Linked DNA regions of Homo sapiens: regions 1, 2, 3 and 4 are each linked to region 5. The links are contacts of gene promoters, found by promoter capture Hi-C in blood cells and fetal thymus (Javierre and others, 2016). All regions are on one chromosome and are shown on one strand. The core of a region is centred on a gene start or on the middle of the fragment in contact, and the rest is flanking DNA. Distances in the headings are between cores, read along the strand shown. Region 1 has its middle 14 kb from the start of PDCD5. Region 2 holds the start of NUDT19 (nudix hydrolase 19). Region 3 overlaps ANKRD27 (ankyrin repeat domain 27). Region 4 has its middle 6.5 kb from the start of PDCD5. Region 5 holds the start of CEP89 (centrosomal protein 89).

Region 1 (2,771 bases), core at 5-2,504, 380 kb before region 5:
GCAATGCCTCGCCCTGCTTCGGCTAGCGCACGGTGGGCTGCACCCACTGACCTGCACCGTCTGGCACTCCCTAGTGAGATGAACCCGGTACCTCAGATGGAAATGCTGAAATCACCCATCTTCTGCGTTGCTCACGCTGGGAGCTGTAGACCAGAGCTGTTCCTATTCGGCCATCTTGGCTCCTCCCTGACCAAAAGCTTTTAAGCACGTGTACCAGCATGACTCTACCCTTTGCAACTGTGCCATGAATATTAGATAGGAAAAGTGTCCGTGGCGGAAACAGAAGCTGCTCCAGCACTCTTCAGGAAGAAAAATATAGCAGCAGCAGCAGCAGCCGCCAATAACATAAGGGGAATTAAAACCTGTCCATCAGACTGAATCAGGTTCAACATTTGAGCACATCTAATATTCTAAGATGTAGATTCTGAAAGCAGGTAAGCTCTTTCTCTTCCTGCAGATACTACTTCCACTTAATGTAAGAAAATTCCTAGCTTTGCCAGGCACAGTGGCTAACACCTGTGATCCCAGCACTTTGGGAGGCTGAGGCTGGCAGGTCATTTGAGGTCGGGAGTTTGAGACCAGCCTGGCCAACATGGTGAAACCCTGTCTCTACTAAAAATATAAAAATTAGCTGGGCGTGGTGGCACACACCTGTAATCCCAGCTACTTGGGAGGCTCGAACCTGGTAGGCAGAGGTTGCAGTGAGCTGAGATCAGGCCATTGCACTCCAACCTGGGTGATTCCATCTCAAAGAAAAAAAAAAGCTAGCTTTGATCTCATTTATAATTGTTTTTCAGAGGTACTGATATTAACAAATACCACTCCCTCCAAAATAACTAGAGTGATAATGACTGAAAAAGAAAATGACCAAAATAGACATGTTGGTAATGCTACTACAGTAATAAACATGTTTGTAAGAGAAATGACTTCTAATGATTTCAAATCCAGTTGAGACACTTCAGCATTTAAACATTTTGGTAACATATCACTGATAATGTTGCAGGTGACTTAAATGTTCTCTCTTTTGTTGTGCTTTCTTTCCACTAGGTTATGAAAACCTGCACTCATAAGTTACGGTTTTCAGAGACGGAGACTTGCTGTGTTGCTGAGGCTGGCCTCAAACTCCTGAGTTTAACTGATCTTCCCACCTCAGCCTCCCTCGTAGCTGAGACTGTAGGTGCAAGCCACTGCTCATATATTTAAATCATAAACTTAACCATCAACCAGCTGTTTGGTGTAACCTTTTAAATGTCGTAGTCCTGTGAGACCTAGCACAGGATTAAATTCATAAATTTAACAAGGTGAATAGGATTAGTAAAAAAATGAAGGGAAATGTGGTTTGCAAACCCCAGTCTCTGCGTTAGCCAGCATACTACTGATACATGTTTAAACTGGAGATTCTACTATATTTGAAATTTGCAACTATTGTCAGTGAAGAAATAGAACAATATCTAACATTATAAATAAGTAGAACCGTTGAGAACATCAACATATTTTTAAAAGAATGATCATAAGATGAAATCTGGCTGGGGATTTTCTGTCAGGGTAAACTGGTAATTTAAAAAAAATTTGGTCGGGGATTTTGAAAAAAATCCCATTTACAGGTAAATTTTGCTTTAGGCCTCATTTACATACAAATGCTAGGAGGACATGAGGCAGTTCACAAGTTCTGTGCTTTCTCACAGGATAACCACTGTCCTAATGGCAACTGCTGTGAGTGTGTTTAAAGATGGTCAGACTCTTTCAGACACCTACCTGAGAGTGAAAAGTGGTTCCATGTACAAGGAGAGAGGTTCCTGATGGCAATAAGAGGCTGGAGTACATTTTAGGGAGTGGAGAGTGGTTATTCTAAACTTTCTAATTTAAATCAGTGAACTTGCGTTACTTTGAATTCAAAACTTTTTTCCACAAAAATGGAAATTAGGGGCATTAATTTCTCAACTGTCACATCAAGTTTTGGGTAGGGAAAGCAATTGGAAAAAACAACTGGTTGTTTGCTTTTTTTTGAGATGGAGTATTGCTCTGTTGCCAGGCTGGAGTGCAGTGGCATGATCTTGGCTCACTGCAACCTCTCTCCCAGGTTCAAGCAATTCTCCTGCCTCAGCATCCCAAGTAGCTGGGATTACAAGCGCACGCCACCACACCCAGCTAATTTTTGTACTTTTAGTATAGACAGGGTTTCACCATGTTGGCCAGGATGACAACTGTTTTTTAAAAATAATCGAGGGAGTCACTTAAGATGGAAAACATTACTGATGACCAGAATAGCTCAAAAAGAAACAGCATTTACCTCTCCAGAGGAAGGGTACACCAAGCTTGCAGCTGCCACTGCCAACCAGGCCTTGATCCTGGCTGTGAGATCCCTCGCAGTCCCCTTATTTTTCTGAACCTGTTTCCTCATTTGACAATTCTACCATTCACAGTGATTGTTGAAATTAAATGGGTATATGTGAAAATGTTTTCAGCTGGGCGCAGTCGCTCATGCCTGCAATCCCAGCACTTCGGGAGGCCAATGTGGGCAGATCACTTGAGGTCAGGAGTTCAAGACCAGCCTGGCCAACATGGTGAAACCCCATCTCTACCAAAGATATAAAAATTAGCCAGGCATGGATGGTGGCAGGTACCTGTAATCCCAGCTATGCGGGAGGCTGAGGCAGGAGAATTGCTTGAATCTGGGAGGCAGAGGCTGCAGTGAGCCGAGATGGTGCCACTGCACTCCAGCCTGGGTGACAGAGCGAGACTCCATCATCTCAAGAAAATGTTTTCAAAAT
Region 2 (3,248 bases), core at 110-2,609, 280 kb before region 5:
CAACTAATACTAATAAAGTTCCTAGTGCCTCACACACTGTACCCAGTAACTACTAATATTATTATCCCCTAGGATTATTATTACTCCTAGTATTGAAGACATGTTACTTTAATCACCTGAGTGCCTTTCTCTCCATTGCTCTGTATTTTTATTTTATTTATTTATTTATTTTTTTGAGACAGAGTCTCGCTCTGTCACCCATGCCGGAATGCAGTGGCAGGATCTTGGCTCACAGCAACCTCCACCCAGATTCAAGTGATTCTCCTGCCTCAGCCTCCTGAGTAGCTGCAACTATAGGCGCGGGCCGCCACACCCAGCTAATTTTTGTATTTTTAGTAGAGGCGGGGTTTTGCCATGTTGGCCATGCTGGTCTTGAAGTCCTGGCCTCAGGTGATCCGACCACCTCGGCCTCCCAAAGTGCTGGGATTACAGGTGTAAGCCACAGCGCCTGGCCAGAGACCAGGTCTCTTCAAACAAAAAAACAAACAAAACCCCTAAATATTGACAATGTCATCTGTGGATTCTACCCAGGAAATAACCCACATTAAAATGATGGTTTGTGAGGGTCGGCAGGGGTATAGTGTATTTCATCCAAAAACATAACAAATGTGTGATCCAATTATAATAGCAATTATGGGAAAAGCTGTCGGTGACTGATAAGGAGTTATAAAAGAAAAGACTCAAATTTACACAGGCTTTTCAAAAGATCATAATCCTGCTATTGGAGGTGGAAGTCTTCTAGACACTAACAAGGTGGAGAGAAATCTCCATGTGGAGGCCCAGATTAAACATCTCCCATCAAAGTGGAACTCGTCAAATGTCCTAAGACACCTAAGGCCGTCCCCAGGCGCCCTGACAATAAAAGGTAACCAGAACACGAGAGAAATTACTCTGGGAGTACCTTTCACATTCAAGGTGTGCAGTAGGAAATTTATAAATTGGCATCTGGCTCGTCCATTCATTTCTCATTGGTGTGGTTCACGTGTGCTTGCAAAGGTCAGACTTCTGCCCTTCGAATGTCCTCTCTCCCTCTCCCACAGAAAACACCCACATGTGGGTCCTTGTTTAAAGCAGAAAGTCCTAGTCCTTAGCTTTTAGTGAGGTGGATGTCATCAGGCCTGGGTTGGCATCCTGTTTTTTACCATGGCAAGTCATATGCGCCCTTAAGCATTCCTGCTTTTGGTCCAAGCTTCCTGCGTGGGAATACTGCGGTCCTCCTTTCAGGCAGCTGTGAATGACAAACGGTCGCTGGCTGCCGTGACACCCATTGTCCCGCGAGAGTGCCCTAGCTGGGCCCCAGTGCACTCGAGGCGGTCCCTGCTCGGGTGCCCCTCCCACAGGCAGGCGCCGTTGCCGACCAAACGCCCAGGTTCACCCAACGCCAGAGGCTCGTCCTCAATTCCCGCGAGGCCCCCGGAGGTGCTGGGGTCCCTGCAGGGCCGGGCCACCTGCCGTGGAGCTCAGGCCGCGCCAGAATCGGATCCGGGAAGCTGCGCGCCATGAGCAGCTCCCTGCGGCCGGGCCCCAGCCGCTGGCGGCGGGCGGCCAGCATCGTCCTGGCGGCTGGCTGGTCGCGCCCGGAGACCGCCACCCCGCCGTCGCGCCCGCCGCCGGCCGAGGGCTTCCGGCTGCTGCTGCTGCAGCGCTCCCCGCACCAAGGCTTCATGCCGGGCGCGCACGTCTTCTCCGGCGGAGTGCTGGATGCGGCCGACCGCTCGGCGGACTGGCTGGGCCTCTTCGCGCCGCACCACGGGCCGCCGCGCTTCGGCCTGGGCCCGGCGCCATTCAGCCGCACCGCTTTCCCGTCGCTGCCCGACACCGATGACCACAAGACCGACAACACTGGGACGCTGCCTGAGGACGTAGCCTTCCGCATCTGCGCCGTGCGGGAGGCCTTTGAGGAGGCGGGCGTGCTGCTGCTGCGGCCCAGGACTTCCCCACCAGGCCCAGCACCCGGGCCTGGCCTCGCCCTGGAGCCACCGCCGGGCCTGGCCTCCTGGCGCGACCGCGTGCGCCAGGACCCGCGCCACTTCCTGCGGCTGTGCGCCCACCTCGACTGCACACCCGACATCTGGGCGCTGCACAACTGGAGCGCCTGGCTCACCCCTTTCTTGCGGGGCACCACTCGCCGCTTTGACACGGCCTTCTTCCTGTGCTGCCTGCGCGAGCCGCCGCCCGTCTACCCCGACTTGGCGGAGGTGGTGGGCTACCAGGTAAGGCCTGCTCAGGGCCTTGCTGCGGACCGCCAGGACGTGAGAGGGAGGACCCCTCCCAGCGGCCCAGGCCCCCAAGGGACCCCCGCATAGGCCAAGCCCAGAGAGATTAAGCAGCAAGGAACGCTTAGACGGGCTGGAAACTCTCACCCCTGTAGACCAAAGCCATGCTCTTGGTGAAGTGCTCTCTGCTTTCCTAGGCTTTGGGGTCTCAAGGCCTGGAGCCTGTCTCTCCACGTGGTTCCTCCAGCGTGGCCACTGTGTAAGCACTTGTACATGTGTAGACATAGTACATCTCCACAGCCGTTTAATTTGGTTTTCTTGGAGAACAGACTTAATATGATCCAGTCTTCCTATTTTTATTTATTTTTGGTACAGATGGGGGTCTTGTCTCTCTGTGTTGCACACCCAGGCTCGTCTCCAGCTCCTGGTGTGTCCAGAATTGGTTCCTTCCAGTGGGTTCTTGGTCTCGCTGACTTTAAGAATAAAGCCGCGGACCCTCGAAGTGAGTGTTACAGTTCTTAAAGATGGTGTGTCCAGTTTCTTCCTTCAGATGTTCAGATGTGTCTGGAGTTTCTTCCTTCTGGTAGGTTCGTGGTCTCGCTGACTTCAGGATTGAAGCCGCAGACCTTCGCAGTGAGTGTTACAGCTCTTAAAGGTGGTGCGTCAGGAGTTGTTTGTTCCTCTTGGTGGGTTTGTGGTCTCGCTGGCTTCAGGAGCGAAGCTGCAGACATTTGTGGTCAGTGTTACAGCTTATAAAGGTAGTGCGGACCCAAGGAGTGAGCAGCAGCAAGATTTATTGCAAAGAGCAAAAGAACAAACCTCCCACAGCGGAAGGGGATCAGAGCAGGTTGGGTGCTGGTGGCTGGGTGGCCAGCTTTTATTCCCTTATTTGGCCCTGCCCATGTCCTGCTGATTGGTCCATTTTGCAGAGTGCTGATTGGTCCATTTTTACAGAGTGCGGATTGGTGCGTTTACAAATCTTTAGCTAGACAGAGCACTGATTGGTGCGTTTTTACATAGTACTGATTGGTG
Region 3 (3,065 bases), core at 456-2,955, 340 kb before region 5:
GGCTGGTACCTGTAATCCCAGCACTTTGGGAGGCTGAGGCAGGCGGATCACTTGAGGTCAAGGGTTCAAGACGAGCCCAGCCAACATGGCAAAATCCTATCTCCACAAAAATACAAAAATTAGCCGTGCGTAGTGGTGCGTGCCTGTAGTCCCAGGTACTTGGGAGGCTGAGGCAGGAGAATCGCTTGAACCCGGGAGGTGGAGGTTGCATTGAGCTGAGATTGCACCACTGCACTCCCGTCTGGGTGACAGAGCGAGACTCAGTCTCAAAAAAAAAGAAAGACTGGACTCAAACCCTCAAACCAACACCAGCACGAGAGAAGGAACCTCTCAAATATTACTGCCAATGTGCCTGCAATATTTTCTGAAATAAAAGGAGGTGTGAGAAGCCGATGTATACTGTTTGGTCAGCCACCTCCTTACAACCTGGTGAAGGCCTCCACAGAAAATGAGAAAGCAGAAGACAGCCACGCTACAGGGAGCAGCAAGGGGATGGGAGCATCTTTGAGAGGTGGACACCTCCTTCCAGGTGACCAGAGACACCCTGGGCCCAGCAAGGCACAGCAGAGTGATTCCTCTGCAGGGCAGGAAAGCCGGCCAGGGAGTGAACTCTCAGACCAATCTGTTTCTTGCCCTGCAAGAACCAGAGGGCAGGGCAAAAACCACCGCAGGCACGGTGAGAGAAACACAAGTTCCCACAGCCTCATAGAAAACAAGTCAAACTCACAACTCTTACTCCCCAGCCTTGGAAATGAACAGAAATTCTGATCTGCACACACGCATAGGTAGAGACACAAGAGCACACACACACGCATTCTTTTTTATTTATTTATTTATTTGTAGAGACAAGGTCTCACTATGTTGCCCACACTGGTCTCCAACTCCTGGCCTCGGGTGATCCACCCGCCTCAGCCTCCCAGAGTGCTGGGATTATAGGCATGAGCCACTGCACCCAGCCCACATACATACTCTAGAATCTTGCTGATTTCCCCCTAAATATGGAAACAAGGCAGAAGAAAGAAACTTTTCAGAAGAGCCACAGCCAGCCACATCCGAGATGCGATGGATGACCCCCAATTTCACTGGCAGCTGAGTGGGGTGATTAAATCAGACTTCAGAGAAGAGCAGAGATTAATTCTTCAACAAGTACCTGAATACTGTCAACGAGTACAGCGAGATCATGATCTAAAATTTTGGTTAAAAAGATAACTGTGTTCATTCCTTGTTACCGCCAAGTCACGTGGAGGCAGAGGCTCAGGTGTGTTCAAGATTCAGCTGCGTCCGTGACCCACCGCCATAGCCAAGGAAGGCATTGTACTGCTACACCTGTGACCCACTGCCATGGCTGAGGAAGGTCTTGCACTGCTGCACCCATGACCCACAACCGTGGCTGAGGAAGACATTGCACTGCTGCACCCGTGACCCACTGCCATGGCCGAGGAAGACACTGCTGCTGGCGGTGTAATGGATGTTAACACTGATTTACAAGGGGTGCTGAAGGACGCCTTCATCCACGGTGGCCTAGCACATGGAATTCGCCAAGCTGCCAAAGCCTCAGACGACTGCTGAGCCCATCTTGGTGTGCCTGCATCCAACTGTGATAAGCCTGCATGTGCCACATTAGGGAGACCCTAGGTGCTGAACACCAGGTCAAACTAATTAAGATTGATGACAATGAGAAACGAAAGGAATGGGTAAGGCCTCTGTAAAACGACAGAGAGGGGAGACCCTATGAAGGGGCTAGCTGCAGCTATGTAGCAGTTAAGGACTTTGGCAAAGAATCTCGGGCCAAGGATGTGATTGAGGAGTGCTTCACATGCAAGAAATGAACGAATAAAATGCTGGCTCACATGCCTCAAAAAAAAAAAAAAAGATACAATTGTGTATGCACAGAAAAAAAGACAAATGCTAAAATATTAATAAGTGTCACCCCTGGCTAGTAAGTTTATGGGAAGTTTTTGTTGTCTTCACTGCCATTTTATAGACTGCAAATATTATTTGTAAGCAAATATTAGTCTTCTAATTAGGAAAAAATTAAGCTATTCTTTTGGGAAAAAAACAGTTCTCTCTCTCTCTCTATATATATATATATATTTTTTATATATATATACACATATTTGAGACAGAGTCTTGCTGTGTTGCTCAGACTAGAGTGCAGTGGTGTAACCTCAGCTCACTGCAACCTCTGCCTCCCGGATTAATGCAATTCTCCTGCCTCAGCCTCCCAAGTAGCTGGGATTACAGGCACCTGCCACCACACCCAGCTAATTCTTGTATTTTTAGTAGAGACAGGGTTTCACCATGTTGGCCAGGCTGGTCTCGAACTCCTGACCTCAGATGATCCACCTGCCTTGGCTTCCCAAAGTGCTGGGATTACAGGCGTGAGCCACCGTGCCCGGCCCAGCACACAATATAATTTCAATTATGTAAAATATACATGGGTAGGAAAAAGACTGAAAATGCATGAACGTGTCAATAACGAATGAATGGGGTGGAAATGCCTGCACCTGAGAGCACCTGGACAGGCTGATGCTGTCTCCCAGACGCTTTAGCTCATCATTATTTTGGGAGATTCTACATCAAAGTCTGACAAAGATGAATGTTCAATCCTTGGCACTCTCACCTTATAATACAGAGATCTTTTCATTTTATAGATTTCAACTTTGTGATTTCTGTATGATCACATTTTACTCATTGGTATGTAGTAAAACAGGCCAGCAGGACAACCATGGTTCAAGATTCTCACGATTCACATAGAAATATAATCACATCCCCTCGCCGACCCCAGCCAATGCTCAATAAAAACCAAGGAAACAATGGCAAGGCCACTGAGTCCTCAAATTGCACACATTAATGGTCTCACAGATGGCAGTGGCAGCCCATCGGGAGTGGCTGCTGCAAAGACGTAAGCTGCAGTGGAGGAAGCGCGGCCAGGTTTGTGCACTCTGCAGGGCCAACAGGAGCCAGGAACAGGCAGGAGCCCCCATCTCCTACTGAGCTGGCAGGGCGGGAGCCCTGCACTCCCAGGCGCAGCTGCAGCCGCCCAGCCGCAGCTCTGGATCCAG
Region 4 (2,951 bases), core at 53-2,552, 400 kb before region 5:
TGCAGTTCACTAGGTTATCTCTTCCCTGGTACTTGGTAGCATTGAGATGACAGCTGCTCTGTCAGCCTAGGTCTCAGAGTGAGAAAATGAGGTAGGAGGCAGAACAGACTCCAGAGTCGGGGCTTGGACACCAGACCAGATTGAAGACTAGCTAAAACAGGGATGTGCTGGAAGCTCCTTTCCATAAGACACGTCCACCAGTGCGTCATGTCAGTTTACCACTTCCATGGCAACACCCAAAAATTACTGCCCCTTTCCATGGCAATGACCCAACAACCTGGAAGTTACCACCCCTTTTCTAGAAATTTCTGCATAATCTGCCCCTTGATTTACATATAATTAAAAGTGAGTCTAAATGTGGCTGCAGCACTGCTTCTGAGCTGCTCCTCCAGGCACACTGCCTGTGGGGTGGTCCTGCTCCGCAAGGAACGGCCCCTCTGCTGCTGCTGCTGTGCATGAGTGCTTCAAGAGAAGTTGCTATCCGACACCACCAGCTTGTCCTGGAATTCTCTCCTGGGCAAAGCCAAGAAACCCTCCCAGGCTTAGCCCCAATTCTGGGGCCTGTCCTGCTAAGGAAGAAGGGAGGGTGAAAGAAAGAAAGAAATGTGTAATTAGTTTGTTAGGGATGCCATATAAAACTACCACAAACTGAGTGGCTTAGAACAAAAGAAAATTGCTGGCCATGCAGAAAGAAGTACTGCAGTAGCTGATGATAATAATTTTCCTTTCTGAAAATATCAGGCTGGGCATGCTGGCTTGTGCCTGTAATCCCAGCAGGGATTTGGGAGGGATTCGGGAGGCCAAAGTGGGAGGAAGGTTTGAGGCCAGGAGTTTGAGAGCAGCCTGGGCAACACGGCAAGACCCCATCTCTGCAAAATGTTTAGAGAGCTGGACATGATGGTGCGCACCTGTAGTCCCAACTCCTAGGGAGGCCAAGGCAGGAGGATCACTTGAGCCCAGGAGTTTAGAGTTCAGCCTTGGCAACAGAGTGAGACCCCATCTTTTTTAAAAAAAAAATATTGTCTCACAGTTCTGGAGGCTGGAAGTGTGGTATCAAGGTGTCAGCGGGGCCATACTCCCTCTGAAACCTGTAGGAAGAGGCTCCTTCCCCATCTCTTCCTAGCTACTTGTGGTTTGCTGGTAATCTCTGGCACTCCTTGGCTTATAGATACATCATTCCAATCATGTTCATCTTCCCCTGTGCATGTCTGTCTCTGCATCCAAATTTTCCCAATTTCCCTCCCTCCCCTCATCCCCCACCTTTCTTTCTTTTTTTTTTTTTTTTTTTTGGTCTGAGACACAGTCTCACTCTGTTGCCCAGGCTAGAGTGCAGTGGCACAATCTTGGCTCACTGCAACCTCTGCCTCCTGAGTTCAAGTGAATCTCCTGCCTCAGTCTCCCGAGTAGTTGGGATTACAGGTGTGCGCCACTATGCCTGGCTAATTTTTGTATTTTTAGTAGAAACAGGGTTTCACCATGTTGGCCAGGCTGGTCTCGAACTCCTGACCTCAGGTGATCCGCCCTCCTTGGCCTCCCAAAGTGCTGCGATTACAGGCGTGAGCAACCGTGCTTGGACCAAATATCCCCTTTATATAAGGACACCAGTCATACTGGATTAGGGCTCACCCCCAATGACCTCATTCTAACTTGATTACTTTTGTAAAGACCCTATTTCCAAGGTCACATTCTAAGATACTGGGGGTAAGGACTTCAACGTGTCTTTTTGCAGGGACATAATTCCACTTATAACAGCAGGTTCACAGAGCTCAGCCTTTCAGCTGGCTTCTTACCAGTCAATAAACCCACCCATACACTTGGAGTTCCTAATCAAATCTTTCTTGCTTTCTCCTTAAAAATGAACAGGTTAGGCCGGGCGTGGAGGCTCACACCTGTAATCCCCAGGACTTTGGGAGGCCAAGACGGGTGGATCACCTGAGGCCAGGAGTTCAAGACCAGCCTGGCCAATCCAGTGAAGCCCATCTCTACTAAAGATACAAAAATTAGCCGACTGTGGTGGTGCCCACCTGTTGTCCCAGCTACTGGGGAGGCTGAGGCAGGAGAATCACTTGAACCGGGAAGGCAGAGGTTGCAGTGAGCCAAGATTGCACCACTGCACTCCAGCTTGGGCAACAGAGCGAGACTCCATTCCCCACCCCCCGCCCAAAAAAATGAACAGGCTAATCAAGGACCACCAACTATCTAATGACAGCCTATGGCATGTGGGAGAGACTATAATAACCATGTTTTCTTATTTTAAAATTTTAGATACAGGGGTCCACGTGCAGGTTTGTTACACAGGTGTATTGCATGATGCTGAGGTTTGGGCTTCTATTGATCCTGTTACCTATATAATGAACATAGTACCCAACAGAGAGTTCTTCAACTATTCCCCTCCTCCCTCCGTCTCACTGTCAGAGTCCGCAGTGTCTGTTGTTTCCATCTTTATGTCCACGTGCACCCGAGATTTAGCTCCCACTTATAAGTGAGAACATGCAATTTTTGGTTTTCTGTTCTGTGTTAATTTGCCTAGGATAAAGGCCTCCAGCTGCATCCATGTTGCTGCAAAGAACATAATTTCTTTCTTTTTTATGACTGCATAGTATTCCATGGTATCTATGCACCATGCATTTTCTAGTTTCTGTTTTTGATGCTCTGACATCTTGGGGCCTTGCTGACCCTGGAGGGATGGTCCCTCCCAGGGCTAGCCACATCCTAAAGATAGTAAGTGACTCTCCTGTGAGCACAGCTTTCAGATGCACACCAGCCAATCCAGAAGTCATTCCCCAACCACCTCCGTTTCAGGGCCCTCACAGGGCTGTTACACTCAGGGCAACTATTTCTCTGCCCTAGTCACCCCAGGGCCCAGTACCAGACTATTAGAAGCAGAGCCCACAAAAATTACTCAAACTAGCCAATCCTGAGCCTGCGTATCTGCCTCACCTGTTCCTTCT
Region 5 (3,075 bases), core at 483-2,982:
CATCAACAGCAGTTCTTGTTTTACCATTGTGTACAGAATTATTTATGGGCTTGTCTATCCTACAGACCGTGTGGCCATAAGCTGTCAGTTGTGGGTATCAGCACACAGCAGGGACTCATTAATGTTTGGGGCTTTAAATAAAAACTCAAGCCAGATGCAGTGGCTCACACCTGTAATCCCAACACTCTGGAGGCCAAGGTGAGAGGATTGCTTGAGCCAAGGTTTAAGACCAGCCTGGGCAGCATACCCAGACCCCATCTCTACCAAAAAAAAAAAATTATGTTTTTTTGAGGCAGAGTCTAGCTTTGTCGCCCAGGCTGGAGTGCAGTGGCACAATCTTGGCTCACTGCAACCTCTGCCTCTCGGGTTTAAGCGATTATCCCACCTCAACCTCCCGTGTAGCTGGGATTACAGGTGCCCACCACCACGCCCGCTAATTTTTGTATTTTTAGTAGAGATGGGTTTTCACCATGTTGGCCAGGCTAATCTTGAACTCCTGACCTCAAATGATCCGCCTGCCTCAGCCTCCCAAAGTGCTGGATTACAGGTGAGAGCCACCTCACGTGGCCTCTACAAAATAATTTTTAAAATTAGCCAGGCATTGAGACTTGGCAGAGTGTGAGGCAAAAAATAAAATAAATAAAAAATACCTAGGTGTGGTGGTGCACACCTGTAGTCCCAGCTACTCAGGAGCCTGAGGCAGGAGGATCACTTGAACCCAAGAGGTTGAAGCCACAGTGAGCTATGATCATGCCACTGTACTCCAGCCTGGGCATCAGGACAAGACCCTGTCTCTAAAACTAAATTAAATAATAAATAAATATAAGAATCCCCTTGGCTGCTACGTGGAGAATGGACCTAGGGGAAGGGCGAGAGTGGAAGCAGAGAAACCAGTGAGGATCTGCCGCAGCAGTCCAGACAGATGCTGGAGGCCGGGGTGTGGGTGGAGATGGGAACAGCTGGCAGATGTATGTAGTGGGTATATCGGATGGGACTTGCTGATGGGGTGTACATGGTGGGTGGAGGAGGGAAAAATGAAGAATGGCTATATCCAGCAGTGCAGCAGGTGTACGTCGTCCAGGAGTTAACTCCGGGCACGGGGACGAATGCTACAGGGGAGGCAGGGTGCTCCTGTCCAACTGTGGCCGACCCTGGGGCAGAAGATTGTTAACGCCGGGCACAGTGGCTCACGCCTGTGATACCAACACTTTAGGAGGCTAAGGAGCTCAAGACCACCATAGGAACATAGCAAGATCCCTGTTTCCACAAAAATATTGAACAATTAGCCGGGAGTAGTGGCGCGCGCCTGTAGTCTCAGCTCCTCGGGAGGCTGGGGTGGGAAGATCGCTTGAGCCCAGGAGTTCGAGGATGCAGTGAGCTATGATCGCACCACTGCACTCTAGCCTGGGCGACAGAGCGAGACCCTGTTTCTTAAAAAAAAAAAAAAAAGTTTAGAACACGAAAAATCAAGGCTTCCTCAACTGAAAACCACTTTCTCTTGTGCCGCCCCCTTGACTGGATCTCAGGCCAAACCCCAACCCGCCCCAACACTTTACCCCTAATTCCCGGCCCCACAGAGCCCCACGCGCGGCGGGCGAGCATCTACTTACGAAATGACTCCTGCGGCCTCTCCGAAATCCCAGGAGCATCCTTGCAGCGCGAGGAGAATGGACCGGGGCCTGGACTCATCAGCAGATCTATCCACAGCCAGGGACCACTCCCTAAAGCCCGCCGCAGGCCCAGCCCTCACGCTTTCTCTTCGCAATGGACTTTGCAGCAACCACGTCGGCCATTGGCTCAGCTCGGCCCTCGACCAATCAGAGCTAAGGTTACTTCCACACCGGTCGTTCTTGGCAACCAGTGGGTACCGTTCAAATCCCCGCCAGGGCGGAAACGTCCGCCCTTATCCGTTCTCTTATTGGTCAGGTTAGACGTCCATTTCTGACGCCACAGCCTATCCGGCGCTGCGGGAGGCGGAGGGCGGGCTGGATGAAGGACTGGGCGAGCACCGAGGGCGTGAACCCGGAAGGTGGCGCGGCCACCAGTAACATGATCTCTAGACTGGGACGGTGGGGTTCCTGCCGGCTGTATTCGGGCCTTGGACTGGACTGAGAAGCTACGGTGCGGATCCAGCTGGGGTATCAGGGGCTAGGCACGTGATGAAAATGAAGGACGCGGACACCAGGACAGGAATCTCCTGGTTCTTAGAGAATTTATTTCGCCACAAATAATTGGCAAACGGGATCTCGCTGTATTGCTCAGGCTGGTCTCGAACTCCTGGGCACAAGCGATCCTCACGCCTCAGCCTTGCCCAATGTTGGGATTACAGACGTGAGCTACCATGCCCAGCCCAGGATTCTTTTAAAACTTAAATCTGATCGTGCCTCTGGCCTTATTGGAATCCAATGCCATTACCACCTCCACCACCACACATCCCGTCTCCAGCCACCCTGGCCTTCATTCAGGCCTTTGTGTTTTCTTTTTCTTTTCTTTTTTTTTTTTTTTTTTGAGACGAGTCTTGCTCTGTCGCCCAGGCTGGAGTGCAGTGGCGCGATCTCGGCTCACTGCAACCTCCGCCTTCCGGATTCAAGCAATTCTCTGCCTCAGCCTCCCAAGTGGCTGGGATTACAGGTGCCCACCACCAAGCCCGGCTAATTTTTTTGTATTTTTAGTAGAGACGCGGTTTCACTATCTTGGCCAGGCTGGTCTTGAACTCCTGACCTTGTGATCCACCCGCCTCGCTCGGCCTCCCAAAGTGCTGGGATTACAGGTGTGAGCCACCGCGCCCAGCCTGTGTTTTCTTATTAGTAATTATAAAGGGAATCTTATTTGACAGTTCTTTGACAAATAATTCAGTTTGCAGAGGGGATCCTGCCCCAGAGGCCCTGGCTTGGAGTGGAATGCAGGGCCGTGTGCAGGAGAGCCTGCTCAAGTGCCGCCTGGCTTTTCCCTCCTTAGGTGGAGACCATCCATGGAAAAGAACCCCCCTGATGATACGGGCCCCGTGCACGTGCCTTTGGGGCATATTGTGGCCAATGAGAAATGGCGCGGGTCACAGCTGGCGCAGGAGATGCA

The links. The method cuts DNA at HindIII sites, captures the fragments that hold promoters and counts their contacts. A CHiCAGO score of 5 or more calls a contact.
Region 1: a fragment that was not itself captured here is called in contact with the fragment with the promoter of CEP89 in region 5 in 3 of 17 cell types (naive CD8 T cells, total CD8 T cells and naive CD4 T cells); the score reaches 6.5 in naive CD8 T cells.
Region 2: a contact is called between the fragment with the promoter of NUDT19 here and the fragment with the promoter of CEP89 in region 5, in 8 of 17 cell types (non-activated CD4 T cells, naive CD4 T cells, megakaryocytes and 5 more). The highest score is 8.6, in non-activated CD4 T cells.
Region 3: a fragment that was not itself captured here is called in contact with the fragment with the promoter of CEP89 in region 5 in 1 of 17 cell types (naive CD8 T cells); the score reaches 5.3 in naive CD8 T cells.
Region 4: a contact is called between a fragment that was not itself captured here and the fragment with the promoter of CEP89 in region 5, in 2 of 17 cell types (naive CD4 T cells and total CD8 T cells). The highest score is 6.3, in naive CD4 T cells.

Annotation. Positions count from the first base shown.
Region 1 is chr19:32,593,409-32,596,179 of GRCh38, forward strand. No RefSeq gene overlaps it. Among named protein-coding and RNA genes, the nearest start is that of PDCD5, 14 kb to the left of the region's middle. RefSeq lists enhancers at 1-780, 1-290. The HindIII fragment of the contact is 2,118 bases long and covers 196-2,313 here.
Region 2 is chr19:32,690,462-32,693,709 of GRCh38, forward strand. NUDT19 (nudix hydrolase 19) reads left to right here and starts at 1,360. Exons shown (of 3, transcript NM_001105570.2): 1 at 1,360-2,213. The coding sequence starts at 1,500. NUDT19-DT (NUDT19 divergent transcript) reads right to left here and starts at 1,835. Exons shown (of 2, transcript NR_186320.1): 1 at 902-1,835. LOC124904690 (a long non-coding RNA gene) reads right to left here. Exons shown (of 2, transcript XR_007067226.1): 2 at 2,504-3,248. RefSeq lists a silencer at 1,323-1,732. The HindIII fragment of the contact is 6,189 bases long and covers 1,188-3,248 here.
Region 3 is chr19:32,634,647-32,637,711 of GRCh38, forward strand. The region is part of intron 12 of ANKRD27 (ankyrin repeat domain 27); the gene reads right to left. It also overlaps the pseudogene RPS12P31. Among named protein-coding and RNA genes, the nearest start is that of SNORA68B, 28 kb to the left of the region's middle. The HindIII fragment of the contact is 4,616 bases long and covers 1-3,065 here.
Region 4 is chr19:32,573,197-32,576,147 of GRCh38, forward strand. No RefSeq gene overlaps it. Among named protein-coding and RNA genes, the nearest start is that of PDCD5, 6.5 kb to the right of the region's middle. The HindIII fragment of the contact is 3,532 bases long and covers 1-2,951 here.
Region 5 is chr19:32,970,226-32,973,300 of GRCh38, forward strand. It overlaps CEP89 (centrosomal protein 89), which reads right to left and starts at 1,733. Exons shown (of 19, transcript NM_032816.5): 1 at 1,611-1,733. The coding sequence starts at 1,649. It overlaps FAAP24 (FA core complex associated protein 24), which reads left to right and starts at 2,017. Exons shown (of 5, transcript NM_152266.5): 1 at 2,017-2,121; 2 at 2,959-3,075. The coding sequence starts at 2,972. RefSeq lists enhancers at 1,541-1,760, 2,141-2,190 and a silencer at 1,871-2,000. The HindIII fragment of the contact is 6,189 bases long and covers 1-3,075 here.